Linked DNA regions of Homo sapiens: regions 2, 3 and 4 are each linked to region 1. Evidence: promoter capture Hi-C in 16 types of primary human blood cells and fetal thymus (Javierre and others, 2016). All regions are on one chromosome and are shown on one strand. The core of a region is centred on a gene start or on the middle of the fragment in contact, and the rest is flanking DNA. Distances in the headings are between cores, read along the strand shown. Region 1 holds the start of GKN1 (gastrokine 1). Region 2 has its middle 15 kb from the start of FBXO48. Region 3 holds the start of CNRIP1 (cannabinoid receptor interacting protein 1). Region 4 holds the start of LOC105374789 (a long non-coding RNA gene).

The links. Contacts are between HindIII fragments. The CHiCAGO score rates a contact against its expected background, and 5 or more counts as called.
Region 2: a contact is called between a fragment that was not itself captured here and the fragment with the promoter of GKN1 in region 1, in 4 of 17 cell types (activated CD4 T cells, naive CD4 T cells, non-activated CD4 T cells and 1 more). The highest score is 9.2, in activated CD4 T cells.
Region 3: a contact is called between the fragment with the promoter of CNRIP1 here and the fragment with the promoter of GKN1 in region 1, in 3 of 17 cell types (naive CD8 T cells, activated CD4 T cells and naive CD4 T cells). The highest score is 6.8, in naive CD8 T cells.
Region 4: a contact is called between a fragment that was not itself captured here and the fragment with the promoter of GKN1 in region 1, in 1 of 17 cell types (activated CD4 T cells). The highest score is 7.1, in activated CD4 T cells.

The regions. Positions count from the first base shown.
Region 1 is chr2:68,971,356-68,976,570 of GRCh38, reverse strand. It overlaps GKN1 (gastrokine 1), which reads right to left and starts at 1,935. Exons shown (of 6, transcript NM_019617.4): 1 at 1,882-1,935. The coding sequence starts at 1,893. RefSeq lists a silencer at 4,213-4,445. The HindIII fragment of the contact is 2,059 bases long and covers 1,314-3,372 here.
Region 2 is chr2:68,449,970-68,455,119 of GRCh38, reverse strand. No RefSeq gene overlaps it. Among named protein-coding and RNA genes, the nearest start is that of FBXO48, 15 kb to the left of the region's middle. The HindIII fragment of the contact is 539 bases long and covers 1,780-2,318 here.
Region 3 is chr2:68,317,601-68,322,314 of GRCh38, reverse strand. It overlaps CNRIP1 (cannabinoid receptor interacting protein 1), which reads left to right and starts at 2,366. Exons shown (of 3, transcript NM_015463.3): 1 at 2,366-3,093. The coding sequence starts at 2,915. The HindIII fragment of the contact is 3,613 bases long and covers 2,242-4,714 here.
Region 4 is chr2:68,106,982-68,111,730 of GRCh38, reverse strand. It overlaps LOC105374789 (a long non-coding RNA gene), which reads left to right and starts at 131. Exons shown (of 3, transcript XR_940223.3): 1 at 131-1,404. The HindIII fragment of the contact is 981 bases long and covers 2,174-3,154 here.

The sequences.
Region 1 (5,215 bases), core at 686-3,185:
GCTTGGTTATTCAGCTTAAATTTGTACTGTGGCTTATGTTACACAGGTTGTTGATGCTCACCTCTCACTCACTTGTTTCTAATTGTTTTATAAGGTTTAAAATTCTCTCTTTAGAGAAATTCAGAAAATTCACCTGGCACATATTTTGACCTCCTAGGTAACATATTTGTACCAGTATTGAATTTTGGTCAGTGCCCCAATATAAGAAAGTTACTGTTTTAAAATAAAGCAAACTATCTTATTTTCCTTGGAAAAAAAAAGAAGTTTTACAATAAATAGCATAGTATAAATGAATACTATGGTTTGAGATGGCTATAAGTGCTAAAAATCACATCTGAAAATGATTTCAGTTAATTTTCCTATTTAACATGGGATGTTTTCTTCCTAATAGAAATAATCTTTTTATTAAAAAAAACTTTCCAAAGCAATGGATTAGTAGGCAGTTTGGATGCCAATGATGAGAAAGCAAGTATAGAGTGTCTCGCTGGCAAGAGTGATCAGCAGAGGCGATGTCACTAGCAGTGTCCCAGGATACTTGGTTTAATTATTTATCACAGGGTCCCTGACATTGGTTTTCAGAGCACAGAGCTTTATGCAGGGTGCCTCATTCTGGGTACCTAGTCTCATTTCCTTTGCCTGGGACAAAATAGTTTTGAGAACTGCTCTAGAGATTCAAGGTAACTTTTGAAAAAAAATTAAATTTTTCTCCCAATAGCTTAAAAAGGAGTTAAAAATTAGTCTCCTAAAAAGTCAGAGGTAGAAGAAATTTTAGAGAACACCTAGTACAATGCAATCATTTTACAGATAAGGTAACTGAGCTTCAGGGGTTAAGTGAGTTGGCCAAACTTATACCTCTTGTTCACAGCAGAACTAGGAGAGAAATCAAATCTAACCTGTGTCTGGAGCTCCCTCTGACCCTTTTAAACTTTGCTGCTATTAAGAGGACCTAGTTCTAGGTAGTCATTTTACATTTGCAGCCCCATTATAAAGTAGAGTCTGCCGTAACGTTTTCCAGTGTGTAGTATGTTGAAACATGAAAATAGTCATCTGATTCTAGCCCCTTTGCATCGTGTTGTGAGAAACCCGGCACTACTAGTTACTTTGGCAGGGTTTCTCGGTCCACCTCCTCCTAGACTCTCAGGCTTCTGTCTGGAACCACAGGAGAGATGCTGTGGTAGCTTCATGTTTCAGATGCTTTCTTAAATAAATGGCCATGCTAGAGCCCAAGGCAAATCTTTCTTTCTTGGAGACCCATTTTACTGTAACAAATGTGACAAGAAGTCTATCTCAGCCACTTATTTTGATAATAAGCTTTTCATCTTTCCTGAACATGCTCAGGAATTTTGGTAAATAAAAGGAGGAATTCAAGAATGAGGGATGATCGGCACTTTCTAGGGCTTAGGAACTGCTTACCCTGCATGGAGACCGGAATCAGGTGATGCGGAAAGTCATTTTGTTAAAAATAGGTCAGTGTGAGGTGCTCAGACAGCTGTCTAATCTCAGCACAATTATCCTTCTCTATAGAGATGCTTATAAATGCCATGATTATATAAATAGAAAAAAGATTTTTTTTCATTATTTCTTCTTCTAAAAAAAAGGGATACATGTGCAGAACGTGCAGGTTTGTTACATAGGTATATGTGTGCCATGGTGGTTTGCTGCCCCTATTGACCTGTCCTCTAAGTTCCCTCCCCTCACTCTCCACCCCCCAACAGGACCTAGTGTGTGTTGTTCCCCTCTCTGTGTCCATGTGTTTGAAGAGAGAATTTTTTTAAAACAAATTTTCCATGATGGGGCCATAAGAAGCAGACCTCCTAAATCTCAGAATATTGACAGTCTCCAATCATTTGGTGGTAAATTCAAAAGGAAAAATCTACTCACTGTGAACTTCATCTTGTCTTCACGAAAGCAGTGGACAGAGGAGTAGGCAAGCATGGACCTGAATGAGAAGCCTTCTCATATTTGTACTTAACCAGGTTGACTCAAACTAGGTGTTATCAGGTGGGGTCAAAGACTTACCTTCCTCAATTTCTCCTATCTGTGCCATGAGCCAGTGTACCAGGAAACCTTTCAGAATATCTGCATGCTTAGCAAGGAACTTTCACATGGAGTTGACCTGACTCATCACTTGTTGAAGCTGAAGGTATCACAACAAACTCAATATGATTTATGATAACTTCTCACCCAGTCAAAGCTGTGGGCGTGAGTATTTTACACGCTAACATTGCTCAGATTCAGAAAAAGAATAATCCCTAAAATCAAACAAAATCACAGCTGAAAAGCCACGTGTATACTAGGCCTTCCAGATAGCAGCTCCTATAGGAATGTAGGAATGGTTTCCACTTCTTAACTTTTATCTGAGCCCATGGCAATGGTTTTGCTTAGACTAAACATGTTTTGTGAGCAACTCCCACCAAACCTACCCCTTTTCTGCAATGTTGAGCTCACTTAATGATAGCACCATATATCTGGTACAGCCCTTTCTTCTCAGTCTGACATCTACTTAGTTACTGTCATTTTATCTCTGAAATGCCTCTCAACTCTGACCTTGCCCACAGCTCCCCTCACCTGGACTTTCACAACAGTCATGCAATTGATCACTCTGGTCACCAGTTTCTTATATTCCAATGCATTTTCTTCATTAACCCTGAGGTTGTCTTTCTGAAGTGCATAGATAGACATGACTCTATCACGCTTGGAAATTTCGCTGGCAGCCTACAGAAAATTCAAAGTCATTGGAATGGCATCCAGGGTCCTATGTAATAAGATTTCCAAAGGCTTCCCGTCTGCCACTTTATGCTATGTACCTACATTCTAGCTCCACCAGCGTTCCCACCATTCCTGGAAAAGTCAAGATGTGTATGTCTCCATGCCTTTGTACATGCTGTTGTTTTATCTTGGAGGGCCACCCGCTAGCCTCTCGCTTGGTAGACTCCTGTTCATTGTTCAAGGCTCAGCTCAAATATCACTGCCTCCATCACATCTCCCCCATCTGATAGATAGAACTTTCCTAGTGTTTGTTTTTTCCTTCTGGGAACTATAAAAGCAATATCTTTTTATTTGCTTCTAGATAATTTAGTTTTCAGAAGTTACATTAAAATAATAAAAAATATTTTCATCAAAAGCAGAGAGTAGAAACTATCAATTGGGCAGACAAGTAAAAGCTCAAAACAGGTTTGGAGGTGAGTTGGTTTTAATTTTTTTCCTGCTTTTTCCTATACAGTGAAGCTAGTAAATTAAATTTGCCAAGGAGGAAAACTGTATTTCATTAACTACCAATCTATAAATTTTCCCTTTGGAAACTTCGTGCCCACAATTTTCCTCCTGTGCATGGATTGAAACCATAAGATGGGATCACATGGTTATAAAGCTTGATTCGCTATCAACATCTCTTCAAAACTGTTGGTAGGAGTGGATTAGAACAGCTGCAGTATTACTGGATATTTTTTAATGTGTCCACTGATTTCTTTCAAACTCACTCTTTATCCACAGAAGGTAATAAGCCTGGAGTAAGGGGCAGACATGTGTGAAGAGGCCTTCATCTGCTTTAGGAAACTTCATGTCACTGAGAAGTCAATGAGTGGGTAGCATGGTCTCTACGTTTAAACTCAGCCACCAGTAGTCATCTTGGTACACAGGTGCAGTGCCCAGCACACATTTTGCATGTCATACCAAGGACAAGGGCCTGAAGTTCTGCAGTGGACCTGTGAAATGCTGGTCTGGAAGATGTTCCATGACAGACAGACAGACAGATAGATAGATAGATAGATAGATAGATAGATAGATAGATACATACATACATACATACATACATACATACACACGTATACACACATAGATACACACACATACATAGATACATAGGTAGAGTTCCGGGTCCAATAATCCCCCCTTTAGAGACTGACAATTCACATTCACACATCAAATGGGCTAAGAAATTTATAGGGGAAAAATCTCTGTTTCATCCAGGTTCTTCTCATCTTAGTTGACTACAGAACCTGATCGTTTTCCCTTTTTCTTTTATTTATTTGTCCTAACATCTCATAACAACTCTGGGGACCCCTGCCTTAGTGAAAAAATTGTGCCACCTCTGAGGATGCACCCTGGATTTGAAAACCCATTTGGGGAGCTACTGGATGAAGCTGGGAGCCAGGAGACCTAGATTCTATTTTCCCATCTTTCAATGAGTCATTTATTTTTTTGGTTTAGGCCTTAGGTTTCTTGTGGGTAAAAGAGAAGAAATTCCTCCTTTATACAATATTTGTTACTTCAATGGCTCTACAACCAGAAAAACTTCTTTTTCTGTACTTTGTGTGGTGTGGGAGGTTGGGGGAGAGGGAGTGTGGGGGTCAAGGTGGGGGTCAACCCTCACCTCAATCCTGGTCTCATCCAAGGCCAAAAGTCCTAATGAAGCATGAGCAAGACTTTTGCCCTGAGAACTGTGTTTTATGTTTCATTCTTCCCTTGAAGAAGAATGTCTTCCCAGGAAGACAGAACATACCAATGTTTTTGGTCACCTCCATAGAATCTAAAATATGCAGACACATATATGGTGCTCAGTAGGCCCCTTGTAAAAATTTTACTTGCGTAAAGGAGATGTTAAGCTACAGGATAAAAAGTGCGTTATATTTAGTCATTTCTGGTTTTGGTGCCAGCCTGAGAGGGGCTGCCCTACACTGGCTGTGATGACACATTGAGGGAGTCTCAGTTGATGGTGTGACCTCTGTGGCTTGGGGTTAGTGTGGAACAAATCAGCCCATGGGTAAATAGAGCCTGCCCTGCCTACAGAGATTGATGCTGGGCCATGCCAAGAAACAAGCCCCTATCGTCATTTTATCTCACAATGCACACACACCCAAGGCTTCATTCTACTCCACACCCTGTGTTGTGCTCAGTGGAAACTCCCTCCGTGTGGAGCAGACGGGATGCATCCCATGTGCAATATGCTCCTGTGTGCAACTGGAGGGAGGCCTGCAAAGGACTAAACTGCTCATTTAAAGATGTCAATCAGATCCCAAATGGTTGGAACCAAAGTGCTTTCCCACAGAAATCAGACTTTTCACATTCCTTCTTGTTCTCTGAGTGGAAGGGAATGTTTGCCTATAGGGTACATTTTAATCATTAAATATTCTCATTCAAGATTCCGTCTCTGCACAGACCTGTTAATGGGCTGACCTAGAGGTTATTAATACCTATGAAGCCCTTAGTAACCTTG
Region 2 (5,150 bases), core at 800-3,299, 520 kb after region 1:
AAAGCAACACAGTATAATAACTACATAGCATTTACATTGCATTAGTATTATAAGTAATTTAGAAATGATTTAAAGTATACGGAAAGATGTGCACAGGTTGTGTGTAAATATTGCACAATTTTATATAAGGGACTTGAGCATCTGCAAATTTTGGCAGATACCAAGGGATGACTGTACTTTTAATGGGCAAGATTAAATTTTACAGTGTGTCTCATTCCTCTCCCAATTCCACACTGCTCACGGAAAAGAAAATAGGAGTTGACCAAGTGGTGATATTGTAGGGTAACTCAATCTCCTCTCAGGCCCACTCTGCCTAAACACTCTACAGCATACCCCATTTCCACTCTACTGTGATTGGCACACACCTAAAACAAATAGCATGTCCTATTTGTCCCACCGTTTCCAGGTGGAACATACAGCAGAAGTCCGTTCTGTCACGAAATCATCAAATGTGTTTGTGGCTTTCAACACTGGAGGAAGGTGGAGGTAGGACCTCTTGGAAATGCCTCATGTAACCCTCCTTTACTCTTCTTGGATTCTCTTCTTCACGCCAACTGGCAAACTTCTCAATCCCTTTTGGGGTGGGAATGCTGTACTGCACTTCATTCATATCCTATCTTTTTCTTCCTTCCTATATCTGGTAGTTCATTTAATAAACACTGTTCTAGATTCTCTAAAGGGAATAATTTGGAATTAAAAAGACCTTTTTCTTCCTCAAGTGCCTCTATCATTTTGTTGTGCCAACTGAAGAATCACGAGGTTCATGAATGTGGAAAGGAGAGCTTTATTTCTTATAAAGGGTTGCAGCCTGCAGGCTGGCCATCCCACAGCCTGGGAAGGGTAGCTTCTGGCAGAAACCAGAAGCAGGTACTTCTAGGGAGGGAAGGGTAAGACAGGAATTTAGGCTGAAAGGGTCAGCTAAGTATATACATTTAACAGGCTATAGGAGGAGCTATGAATATTCACAAAAGGGGAGTGCACTCATGCACAGCAAGCTAACATGTATGTTACCTACATCCTATGTTCACTTTAGGATGGAAACTTAACATTTAAATGTATTAAAATTAGGCTCTATACGTCAAAAGCTGAAACAGAGGACACAGAAGCATCCTGTGTGCAGCTTCTGTAAACCGGCCAGAACCAGTCCATGGTTAGTGGCCTCTTATCAGGAAGGAATGATGGTCAGTTGTTGTGTCAAACTGCAAAAAGGAAGAAGAGTCCAGCAAGTCTTCAGAAAGGGCCTGTTTCTGTTTAACACTTAGGAGTGGAAGTATAATGGCAAGTAGCAAGGGAGGGAGTATAACAGGGCATGTCTGACCTCCCAATCCATCATGGCTGGGAATTCAGCTTTTAAGATTTCTCTAGGATCTCCTTAGCCAAGAGGGGAGTCCTTTTAGTCAGTTGCAGGGGGGACCTTTGGATTTTATTTTCGTTTCTCAGTTGAAAGCCTAGCAGTTAAGACTTCTGAGTCTTCTATGCTTGAAAAAAGTCTTTTGAAATTCAAAGCTGAGTTCTGACTTCTTTATTCTCGGCTGTACCTACCAGACCCACAAAGCACTGGATGCCTGTCTTTCCAGGCAGAGAGCTGCAGAGAAATAAGAATTACTGGGCATGGAAAATACAGCGGAATGTATTACAAAAAAAAAACAACCCATTCTAGTATTACTCTACACAATAAAATAATGCTGGAAAAGGAAGAAAGAGTAAAAACTATAAAGAACAGCTGAGACAGAAGAAGGTAATAAACAAGGCATGCGGGTTGGGTTTCTAATAAAAGCTTGACATCCTTATATTGAGTTCTACCACAAGTAAAACTGACTTTTTTCATGAACCTGTTTGCATTTTCCAATACCTCCTTGTCCTTACCCAGTCAGGGCCGGATGGAAATAAAAAAAGATAAAACTGCAGTTTTACAAGTACCACACCAATCATACTGTATTATCATAAACATTAACTGCTCAAGAAAAAATTTTTCTTAATTAATTAATTTAGTTATTTATTTTTAGAGACTGGGTCTCACTATGTTGCCCAGGCTGGCCTCGAACTCCTGAGCTCAAGCAATCCTCTCCCCTCAACCTCCCAAAGTGCTGGAATTACAAGCATGAACCACTGTTCTGGCCCAAAAGAAATTTTTAATAATCATTTTCTGAGGCCTACTTTTCTGCTATGGGTCTTCTGTGCCTTGTAGGGGAAAAAAACCCAGCTGCTGGTTTCCCAGTTTGCTCATTTTGATTTACTTTTAATATGACAAAATTATACAGTCCATTTGTCACACAATGAAATCCTGATAGAAAATATGTAAAACCATAAAAGAAGCTTTCTAAAAATCACACGTGAGAATCTCCCCCACTTATTGCTGTGGTTGTGTTTTTTTGTTGCCTAACAAGTAGATTGAGCACAATTTCCTGTCTTTATTCTCATTGGTTAGTGAAGAAAATAAAAAGGACTGCTTTTGCCATTGTTTTCCTGTGTATGGCCTACTTTTTTCATCAGTTCAACTTTTTTTTTTCTCTCTCAGACTTTTATTATATATTTTTAAACGTGCTTTCTCCCTAAATGTTTTATTTTGAAAGTTTTCACTCTTACAAAAAATTTCAAAGTCTAGAATATGGCATCATCACCTAGATTAACCAATTGTTAACTTTAACCATGTGTGCTTTATCTCTGTCTATACCAGGTCCCTAAACTTTATCACTATTAACATTCTGGGCTGGATAATTCTTTGTTTGGGGGAGGGGCAGGGGTGCTGTCGTATACACTGTAGAATGTTTAGCAGCACCGCTGGCCTCTATTCATTAGATGCCAGTAGCACCACTTCCCAAGTGCTGGCAACCAAAAATGTCGCCAGACATTGCCAAATGTCTCCTGGGGGAAAATCCCTCTTGTTAGGAACTACTGGTTTATACTACATTTTAAAAAAACACCTAAATGTCCATCAACCAAGAAGAGTGGATAAAGAATAGATATCTATAATATGTATATTTATATATAATATATATTATATATTTTATATATAATATATATAATTTATATATAATATATAATATATATTTTATATATTATATATTATATATATTATATATAAAATATATATTTAATATAATATATAATATAATATATATATATTTTATATAATATATAATATATATATTTTATATAATATATAATATATAATATATAAAATATATATTTAATATAATATATAATATATTATATATAATATGTAATATATAATATATAATATATTATATATAATATGTAATATATAATGTATATTATATATTATAATATATAATATATATTATATAATATACATTATATATAATATATATTATATATAATATACATTATATATAATATACATAATATACATTATATATAATATACATAATATACATTTTATATATAATATATATAATATACATTTTATATATAATATATATAATATACATTTTATATATAATATATATAATATACATTTTATATATAATATATATAATATACATTTTATATATAATATAAAATTATATATAATATACATTTTATATATAATATAAAATTATATATAATATACATATTATATATAATATAAAATTATATATAATATACATATTATATATAATATAAAATTATATATAATATACATTTTATATATAATATAAAATTATATATAATATACATATTATATATAATATAAAATTATATATAATATACATATTATATATAATATAAAATTATATATAATATACATATTATATATAATATAAAATTATATATAATATACATATTATATATAATATAAAATTATATATAATATACATATTATATATAATACAAAATTATATATAATATACATATTATATATAATATAAAATTATATATAATATACATATTATATATAATATAAAATTATATATAATATACATATTATATATAATATAAAATTATATATAATATACATATTATATATAATATAAAATTATATATAATATACATTTTTTATATAAAATAAAATTATATATAATATACATTTTATATATAAAATAAAATTATATATAATATACATTTTATATATAAAATAAAATTATATATAATATACATTTTATATATAAAATAAAATTATATATAATATACATTTTATATATAAAATAAAATTATATATAATATACATTTTATATATAATATAAAAGTATATATAATATACATTTTATATATAATATAAAAGTATATATAATATATATTATATAGATATAAAATTGTATATATAATATATATTATAGATAGATATAAAATTGTATATATAATATATAATATGTAGATATAAAATTATATATAATATATATTATATGATATAAAATTATATATCATATATTATATATGATATAAAATTATATATACCATATATATTATATATGATATAAAATTATATATACCATATATATTATATATGATATAAAATTATATATATCATATATATTATATATGATATAAAATTATACATATAATATTAAATATAATGTAAAATATATAATATATAGTATATATTTTATCTATTATAATATTATATATTATATATTATATATTTTATTTATAAATTATATATAAATATATATAAATTATATATAAATATATAAATATGTAAATAATTATATATAAATTATATATAAATATATAAATTATATATGAATATATAAATAATTATATGTAAATTATATAAATATATGAATAATTATATATAAATTATATAAATATATAAATTATAAATATATAAATTATATAAATATATAAATTATAAATATATAAATTATATAAATATATAAATTATAAATATATAAATTATATAAAAATTATATATATAATTTATATATATAAATTATATAAATTATATATATAAATTATATAAATCATATATATAAATTATATAAATTATATATATAAATTATATATATAAATTATATAAATTATATATATAAATTATATAAATTATGTATAAATTATATATATAAATTATATAAATTATATATAAATTATATATATAAATTATATAAATTATATATAAATTATATATATAAATTATATAAATTATATATAAATTATATATATAAATTATATAAATTATATATAAATTATATATATATATTATATAAATT
Region 3 (4,714 bases), core at 1,117-3,616, 650 kb after region 1:
AATGAAGAAACTGGGGCTCCAAGAGACTAAAGCAGCTTTGCTCAAGGTCACTCAGTTTGTAATCCACAGATCTGGCAACACAAACACAGATCCATCAGACTCCATATTCATATTCTTTGCACATATGTATCAGTGATGATAAATTTTCCAATTACTTTTACATTTATTAATTTCATTTTAAGACATTACATTGTATGGTCCTGAAAATGCTATTCCTAATGGATATTGCCCAGCATTAGTAACACCTCGTATTTGAAAAGTAATTTATTTTTTTCAAACAATTTCCATTTCCTCATTCAATTCTCACAATGTTGGGAAGGAGGTATTTTAATCCTCATTTTACAAAGATGAAACATAAAGATGTTAAGTTATTTGCATAACGAAACTAAAAAGTGGCAGAGTTAGGTTTTTTTTATTTTATTTATTTATGAGATGGCAGTCTTACTATTTTGTCCATACTGGCCTCAAACTCGTCGGCTTAAGTGATCTTCCCACCTTAGCCTCCCAAGTAGTGGGGACTGCAAGAGTGCACTACCTAGCCAGGCTAGAACCAGAGTTTTTGTTTTTGTTTTTGTGTGGGTTTTTTTTTTTTTTTTCAGATGGAGTCTCACTTTGTTGCCCAGACTGGAGTGCAGTGGCATGATCTCGGCTCACTATAAGCTCTGCCTCCCCAGCTCAAGCGATTCTCATGCCTCAGCCTCCCAAGTAGCTGGGACTACAGGCATGCGCCACCACGCCTGGCTAATTTTTTGTATTTTTAGTAGAGACAGGTTTTGCCATTTTGGCGAGGCTGGTCTTGAACTCCTGGCCTCAAATGATCTGCCCTCCTTGGTCTCCCAAAGTGCTGGGATTCCAGGCATGAGCCACCATGCCGGCCTTAGAACCAGGTTTTAAAATGGAGTCATCATCCTCCAGGTCCAATGCTCTTTTTGATACACAGGTGGAAGTTGGCTTGAGATTGTGGGGTTGCTAAACAAAAGGTTGAGGAAAAAAGGCAAAATTTCCAAAAAGGCTTTTAAATGACCCCAAAAAGATACTCACCCTCTTTCCACTACTCATAAACCATAATAACCAACATTAAGTTTACTGTGTAACTCTCTCATTCTTTTAAAAGAGCTAATACAAACATACACATTTATATTCTTTTTAAATTTTCATTTTTCTAAAACACTAGAGATGCTACTTGCAATTAGATTTCTTTTCATCATTCCAGGTAAATCGCAAGGATCTAATTAATTTTAAAGATGTGAAAGAATTTACATATGGACATGATTAAGACCACAACCGTAAGTCAATTCAACAACGATTTCTGGAGCACCTACTATGTGTCAGGCACTATTTTGGCATGCTGGGGAAACAGCAACAAACAAAACAGACAAAATGCTCGCCCTCAGGCTTTGTTTCCCAGCCATCCCACTTTTATCATTAACAGTTTTTGCCTGTGTGTTTGCCAATGCAACCTATATTTCATTATTTTGATAGTTGTGTAACGTTCTATAGTGTGGGTATATAAGAATTTATTCAGCCATTTATTTATTGGTTAACATTTCATTTAGGTTTTATTTTTATTTTTGCAACCAATGTTGCAATAAACACCCATATTACATATATATTATATGTATAGCTTATTATTTCTTAAAAAAGAGCAGTCTAACTTGGGTAAACAAAAACTGCCAAGGAAACGCATCCCTACCCATTTGTTCTCACTAGCCCACTTCATTTCCCAGGTGTGCTCCCTGGCTCTGGTACTATCCATCTGGGTGGTGCTGAAGCAGGTGCTCTCTCTGCTCCGGGAAGCCATTCCCAGTATAGTCCTCACCCCCTGAGTCTCCCCTCGCTTCCAAAAGTCAGCTGTCTACCGACCTCTGCCACGAAAACTGTCTAATCACGCTTAATATGCAAATCTAAACTCTGCGGTGTCGCATATGGCCCCCTGCCAATAATCCTTTGACCCATCCCACCTCTTGGCCATTTTGTCACCAGAATGCCTTAGGCTCATGTCAGTTGCCTTTTACAGGGTTAATAGCTCACCCTTCAAAATCTGTGTAAATATATGTGATTCATTACATATATTTATGTATGTGTCATTTTTGGGACGAGCATACGTATAATGGAAATGTACACCCACAAGAAGATGTAGCTCCTTGAATATGGTTATTTTCTTCCTCTTGCATCCATTCCTCATCCAGCGTGGCTCCATCACGTGGAATTGCGCCTTTCCTCGGCCATTTCCCCTAAGCTTTGGAAAGACTCATATTTCCTGAAATTTAAATCACCGGCTAGCGGTTTCCTGTCCCCCCTTCCCGCCTCCCTTTACCCCCCCTCAGCCTCCTCCCGCCTGGCTGGCGCCGGATCCGCGAGCAGCAGTGTCCACCTCACGTAGCTGGCCGAGGCGGTATCCAGATTCCGGGGGTCTCGCTCCTTGGCATAGTGGTCGCTTAACTCCAGCGCCTTCCCAGTGCCTCCCAAACCTCTCCTCCTCCTGCCCGGGGCTGTTCTAGGAGGAGCCTAAATGTCCGCTTCCCCAGCTGAAGGGGATTGTGGTGCGTAAACAGGATTAACTCCCTCGCCCCCAGCTGCGCGGATCTGCGCGGCGGCCTGCGGGCCAGAGCGAGCCTTCGGGTGCGTGGAGGGCGCAGCACTGGAGCGGGGGATGGGGAAGCGCGCGGCCTTGGAGCCGTCTCTTGGGCCCGCTTCCTCGCCGAGTGGGGAGGGGGGCCACAGCCTAAGGAGCTGCTCCTCAAAAGCCCGGGCGGACGGCGGCGACGGCGCGGGTTCCTAGCGGCAGCCTCAGCTCCACCACCTCCCTCACCCTCCCCGCGCTTCCTCTCCGCCCCTCGCGCTCCAGCCACTCGGCCGCAGCCGGCGCTGTCCTCCGCCCCCCGGAGCCGCCGCGCCAGACCCTCGCCCAGACATGGGGGACCTGCCGGGCCTCGTGCGCCTCTCCATCGCGCTGCGCATCCAGCCTAATGACGGCCCGGTCTTTTACAAGGTGGACGGGCAGCGCTTCGGCCAGAACCGCACCATCAAGCTGCTCACCGGCTCCTCCTACAAGGTTGAGGTGAAGATTAAACCCAGCACGCTGCAGGTCGAGTGAGTGCGGGGCGCCTGGTGGCAGCAGGGTCCCCCATGGGGTACAGGCAGAGGACTGAGGCCCCCAGGACAGCCCGAGCCTCTCAAGGGCCTCTGGCCTCGCGCCGCTCCCAGCGGGCCCGGGGGTTGGAGGAAGAGGTCACTCCCTGTCCGCCTTCGTCCCCTTCCTTCCCTTTGGCTTGTATTCCTCCATTCTCGCTTCCCTCCACCCATCGCAGTGACCTCAGTGGGTTCTTTAAAATCAGTGACAAGAAGCCAGGGTTTTTGCTTGTCTGTTTCTTATAAATTTCTCCTGCCTTCTGTCCAGCCTTGGGCGCGGAACCGCAGGCGGTCGGGGTGGAGCAGATGGGAGAGGTCCGCAGGGTTCAGCCACCGCAATCCCAGCCCTCCTGCGCGCGGTCCAGGCGGCCCACAGGGTCTGCCCGCAAGGCTGAAGGAGGGAGAAAGGAGGAATGAGGTGGAAAGGCAGGGGAGGGGTGATTACTGGGGCTCCCTGAGGGATGCTCCCCACTCCCTTCGCCATTCAGTGGCTGGGACCCTGGGGTGGAGCAGCAGACACTAGTAAGAGAGCGGCCGCCCCTTCTCTGGCCTAGTTTCACGGTTTTCCATGCCGTATGCTGTTCTTTTTCTCCTGAGTTTTCTGTTCAGGCTGGTGATGGTGCCTGGGATTAGCAACATCCCCACAGCAAGAGGATGTTTTTTGGTTTATCCATGGCAGGGACGATTTCTTGCCAGCGACCGCTGGATAATGCACCCAGTAGACCTCTGGCGGGAAAGTGTGTGGGAGCATGCAGTAGCCTACCCGGAAGAACTGCGGGTGGAGCCCCTTTACCTCTCGTTTCTACCTACCAAAGTCTAGTCTGCAGAGAGAAAATAAACCAGCATTTATTGTATCTACTACATATGGTGGGCATTATTGCGGGGGTGGAAGGACTTTGAATTCATCAGATACTACTTATAGCTTACGTTTTAATTCAGTAAACTTGTATTAGCCTTCCAAGGTGCAAGGACCTAGAACCAAATCTGGATGGTTTCTGGTACTCCTGATTCATCTATTTGTCAGCATCCCCCACAGCTCCATGCACCCTTTATTCTCACATTTCCCAGTGTTCTGTGCACCTGGATATAATCCAGGCTTTTCCTTTCCCTTCTTTCCTGCCAACCTTATCCCCGGAGTTATCTGTTAATATATTTCTTTTTTTTTTTTTTAGAGTATTCCTCTAGTGTTCAAACTAATCTAAAAGTTAATTTGTTAGGAATAAAACTATTTTTTCTGGTTACATTTTAATGCTATCAAGGATTTCTCAACTCTAATCCTGTGGTTCTCAAACCTGAGTATATATCAGAATCACCTGGAGTGCTTGTTAAAACACAGATGCTGGAGCTCTCCCTAGAAGTTCTAGTTTAGTCTATGGTAGGGCCTAAGAATTTGTTTTCTAAGGTCTGCAGGTGATGCTGATACTGCTGGTCCAGGGACTTGGCTTTGAGAACCATTATCCTAACACAAAAGAATGATGCCAGTGAGAATTTCTGATGGTGTAGAAGGCTTGAGGTACTCCAAATCATAGGACCCCTGATTGTTGGAACAGGAGAAAAAAAATATTAGAGGACGAGTTCAGTA
Region 4 (4,749 bases), core at 1,415-3,914, 870 kb after region 1:
TAATTTATGTATTTTTAGTAGAGACGGGGTTTTGCCACGTTAGCCAGGCTAGTCTTGAACCCCTGACCTCAGATGATCCACCCGCCTCGGCCTCCCAAAGTGCTGGGATTACAGACGTGAGCCACCACGCCCGGCCCAGGCTCTGTTACTCCTGGCCTCAAGCGATCCTCCTGCCTTGACCTCCCTAAGTGCTGGGAAAAAGAGCCAATGTGCCTCACCTCATGTGCTGTTTTCATTTACCAGGAAAAGCGGGATTTGGTGTGGAACTCGGAACTTACTTGTCAGGCACTATCTACAACACCCATCACCAGCAGGGTAGGTGTTCCTGGTGTAGGAGAGGGCACTGTGAAGGGAGGCAACATGCCATTACAGTGGTCAGCCAGAAGGATCCCATGAAGGAATATGATGAGAGTCATTCCTGCCCAGTCCTCACCAGGGACAGGTGCAGCTGCCAATAGAGGCCCATTCATCTTTAGGAGGCTATAGTCATCACATTTATTCAGTAGCAAATATGGATTGTTAGGCTAAACAGACCATAATTTAGAACGGCAGTCTCTTAATTGTGCCATTGGTATTCATCACTGTAATAAAATTGTCTAATTGAAAAAGCTATATTGACAAACCAACAAGCAGTACATTGATTTAGTAGCAGTTTTGAATTATTAAGTCTGCAATGTTTTATTCCATAGAACGTTTATATTTTTCATTAGATAGGTCTTCTCTTAAAAGGGGCTGAGGGGTTATTTTGGAAAACTCTTCAGACTGAAGTAAGGATTGCTTCAAGTATGGGAAGATTTGTGGATTCTGAAAAGCCATTTGGTTTTCTGTATGTACTGGATGTGCGTATGTGTGTGTGTGTGTATTTGTGTAGACTAATTTCCCTAGATGATCTGAGCCAAAAATGAAAATTTAAAGTTTGTTCTACTAGTCCTGTGAACTGAGGTCACCAATTGGGAAAGAAAGGATGAGGAGTCAATGTACAAGCCCACCTACCTGGTTGCACTGACCCATGCAGAAAGAACAGCCACTGTGGTAGTGAGCAAGGGCTCTGCGGTGACAGTCTACAGCACATGATGGGGACCACAGCAAGTACTCAATGGGACTGGTGTATTGTTTATATGATTGAAAGGGGTGCTGTGTTATTTAGAAATAGTATTTACCTGCATGTAGCAAAGACCTGGAAAATAATGGGTTAATTCTCCCATATAATGAAAGTCAAGCTGTAGGTAGTCTAAAGTTGCATAGTGTCTCTCCATGATTCAGGCTCCATTCTTTTTTCTCCACTACCCCTATCCTCAAGATGATTTCATGGTTCATGATGACTGCAAGGACCTTGCCATCAAACCACTGAGAAGGTTTGAAGAAGGAATAAAGATAGAAGGGTGGAAAGTGGCACATCTTCCAGTAAGTGGCACTGCAGCACACCCCACACGACACTTTCATTCATAGTTCAGCGGACAGAAGTTAGTCATGTGACTACACTTAGCTCAGAGTGAGACTGTGAAATGTTGCCTTTGGCTAGGCATACCACCGCTCTGAAATAAAATAGGGATTCTTTCAGTATAGAATTTGGGAAAATTAATATTAAGTTGGCATTAGTAGTCTCTGTCACAAACACATTACATTAGCATGGCTTTTGGTGGAGACAAATTGGCAACATCCATCAAAATGTTAAATATTCATACCCCTTGAACCAATAAGTATAAATTTACTCAGAAATATGTGCACATATACAAGTATATATATGCTTATTATAGCACAGCAGTATTAATAATATCAAAATATTGGAAGCAACCTAAAGGTCTATCAATGGTAAAATTGTTTAATAAATTGTGGTATGTACCACAGAATACTATTCGGCTATGAAGGAAGAATGAGGTGACTATAAGTACTGAAAGGCAAAATGACATATTATTAATTAAAAAAGCAAGTTGCAGAGTAATAGTGTATTTCCCTTAGTAGAATTGTATTATACACATCCCTGGGGATGGGTCCGAATCTTTGCAGGCAGAGGAATGAACTCGTGTAATTTGAAAGAGGTCCCAGAAACTCTAAAAGAAAATAATAGTAATGAGTGCAAACCGAATCCCCAGTACAAATACATGAGTGAATTGTTACCACATAGAAAGTGGTAACAATATTATTTTCAGAAGAGCTCTGCTTGTACCAAGCTTGCATCAAAGTATTGGATGGGTCAATCTGACATAAAGCCTTCGTAGCACATCTAATGGTGAAACTGGCATGGGAAGGGCGTCAGTGCCGCTTCTGGGTGAATGGTGAACAGGACTCTGAAGTAATATTCCACTACAATGGCAATATAATCAGATTATAACTTTTTTTAAATACGTTGAGCTCTTACAAGAAACAAAGGGAACTTTCCAATGTCAACAAAACAAAATAAAACAACATGCAAACATGCATAGTAAGCTAAAGCTAGCATTGAGTGGTAAGCAAACTGCAAAACTTGGAGGAGAAATGCCAGTGTCAGTCACAAATGAGGGATTGAAAGCTAAGCTCTGAGGCTGCTGCCAGGCCCTGTGTCCTAATTAAGGAGGCTAAAGCTGTCCCTTGTTGTTAGCATACGTAATTCCAGAAATATATAAATTCAAATCCCTTTTGAGGAAGGTGTCATTAATTCAGGATTTCAGGATTCCTATAGACTATGTGAAACCAAATGGATAATTATGATGAAAAAATCCCCAAATATACAAAGAAACAAAAGACATAATGATGATATGAGTTAGGACTAAGTTTAGCCTCACACAGCAGAACAAACAAATAATGGTGGCTTAGACACACACAGTTTTATTTGTTTTCATCTAAAAGACGTCATGAGATAGGTGTCCAGGACAGATTCATCAGAAATTCATCAGGGACCTGTTTCTTTACAGTTTATGAATCATCTCAGATCTACGTTATGCTCCTTGTTCTTGTGACCCAAGATGGCAGCTAGAGCTCCAGATGCTCACATTCCAGGCCAATTGTGGAAGGAAAGGGATGAAGGGCAGGCCTATTTAAAAAAAAACAAAACCAAAACATTCTGAAGTTTGCACACAGTACTGCCACTTAAAATTTATTGTCAAAAATTTAACCACAATGATCACATCTTGATGTGAACAAAAACTAGGGAGTTTTAACTGGCCAACAATAAGCTTGACTAAAAATTAGTATTTTCCTTACTAGCAAGGGAGTTGGGGAATGGATGCTTGTTGTCAACTGAGTCTCTGACACAGTAAGTGTGTAATGAGCTAGAAAATGGCACCCCTGAATATCTCAGTCCTAAGCCCTGGATCCGTGTGTTATGAGAAAAATTTGAGACTGTAACATCCCCTATCCCTCCCAAGTTGGGAAGGTGCCGAAAGACCAAAGAATGATTTAGGGAAGTTGTGTTTGGCAAGTAGATGAGTTTATTGAGACATACAGGGCAGGGCACTCCTGAGTGGCAGCAGCACAGCTCAAGAGATCTGTGCCACCTCCCTTCTCTAAGCTGCTGTTAAGCTAATTTTCGGGCTCTTTGCCTACTGTGTTTGTGTGATGGTACTGTTTTCTTTGGTAGGTTCTCACATACTCCCTGGGATGTTTAGGCTCTCAGGGACACCTGCTCCTCAGCTGGGTACCATGGCCGTGACTTACTATCTGGCCTTCAGGGTTCAGGCAGCGGGCATATACTTTTAAGTAACCTGGTAGGGCAGCCTGTCACACTGCACTGTTAGTTAGTATCACCTTACATGGCAAAAAGGACTTTGCAGGTGTGATTAAGTTAAGGATCTTGAATGAAGAGATTATTCTGTATTATCCAAATGGGTCCTAGATGTAATCACAAGTGTTCTTATAAGAGGGAGGCAGAGGAAAGTGTGACTACAGAAGTAGAGGATGTTGGCTAAGCAGGGTGGCTCATGCATGTAGTCCCAGCACTTTGGGAGGCTGAGGTGGGAGGATCGCATGAGCTCAGGAGTTCAAGACCAGCCTAGGCAACATAGCAAGACCTCATCTCATTTTACAAAAATAAATAAATAAATAAATAAATAAATAAATAAATAAATAAAGTAGAAGATGCAACAGGTTGGAGTATGGAATGATGCAAGGAAGGGGTCATTGGCCATGGAATGATGGAAGCCCCTAGAAGCTAGAAAAGGCAAGGGAACATCATTCCTACAGCCTCCAGAAGAATCAGCCTTGACTTTAGCTTAGCGCTTTTGGACTTCTGACCCCAAACTGTATGAGAAAGAGTTTGTGTTGTCTTAAGTCACCAATTTGGTCGTAATTTGTTATAGAACTCACTAGGAAATGAATACATATTGAATGTCAGCTGAAACTAAAAACAGATATAGACCCACACCCCACAGATTCTAGACATTGTAATTATTAGACACGTAGCATTTTAAAGAAAATTCAAAGATAAAAAAAATTTACTTAGAAAATGTGCATGGAAGAGACTATAAAGTGACCTGGAAAATCAGAAATGGCATTCATTTTCTCATTTGAAATAAAATGAAGAAATGAAAAATTATAACATCTCTCTCTCTCTCTCTCTATATATATATGTATACATAGCATTGAGTGGTAAGTAGATATATATATATAAGTATATATATATAAATTATATATATATAAAATTTTTGTAATTAAAAAAATAGAGACGAGGTCTCACTTTGTCACCCAGGCTGGAGTGCAGTGGTGTGGTGTGATCACAGCTCTCTGCTGCCTTGAACTCTTGGGCTCAAGGGATCCTCCCATCCTAGCCTTCCT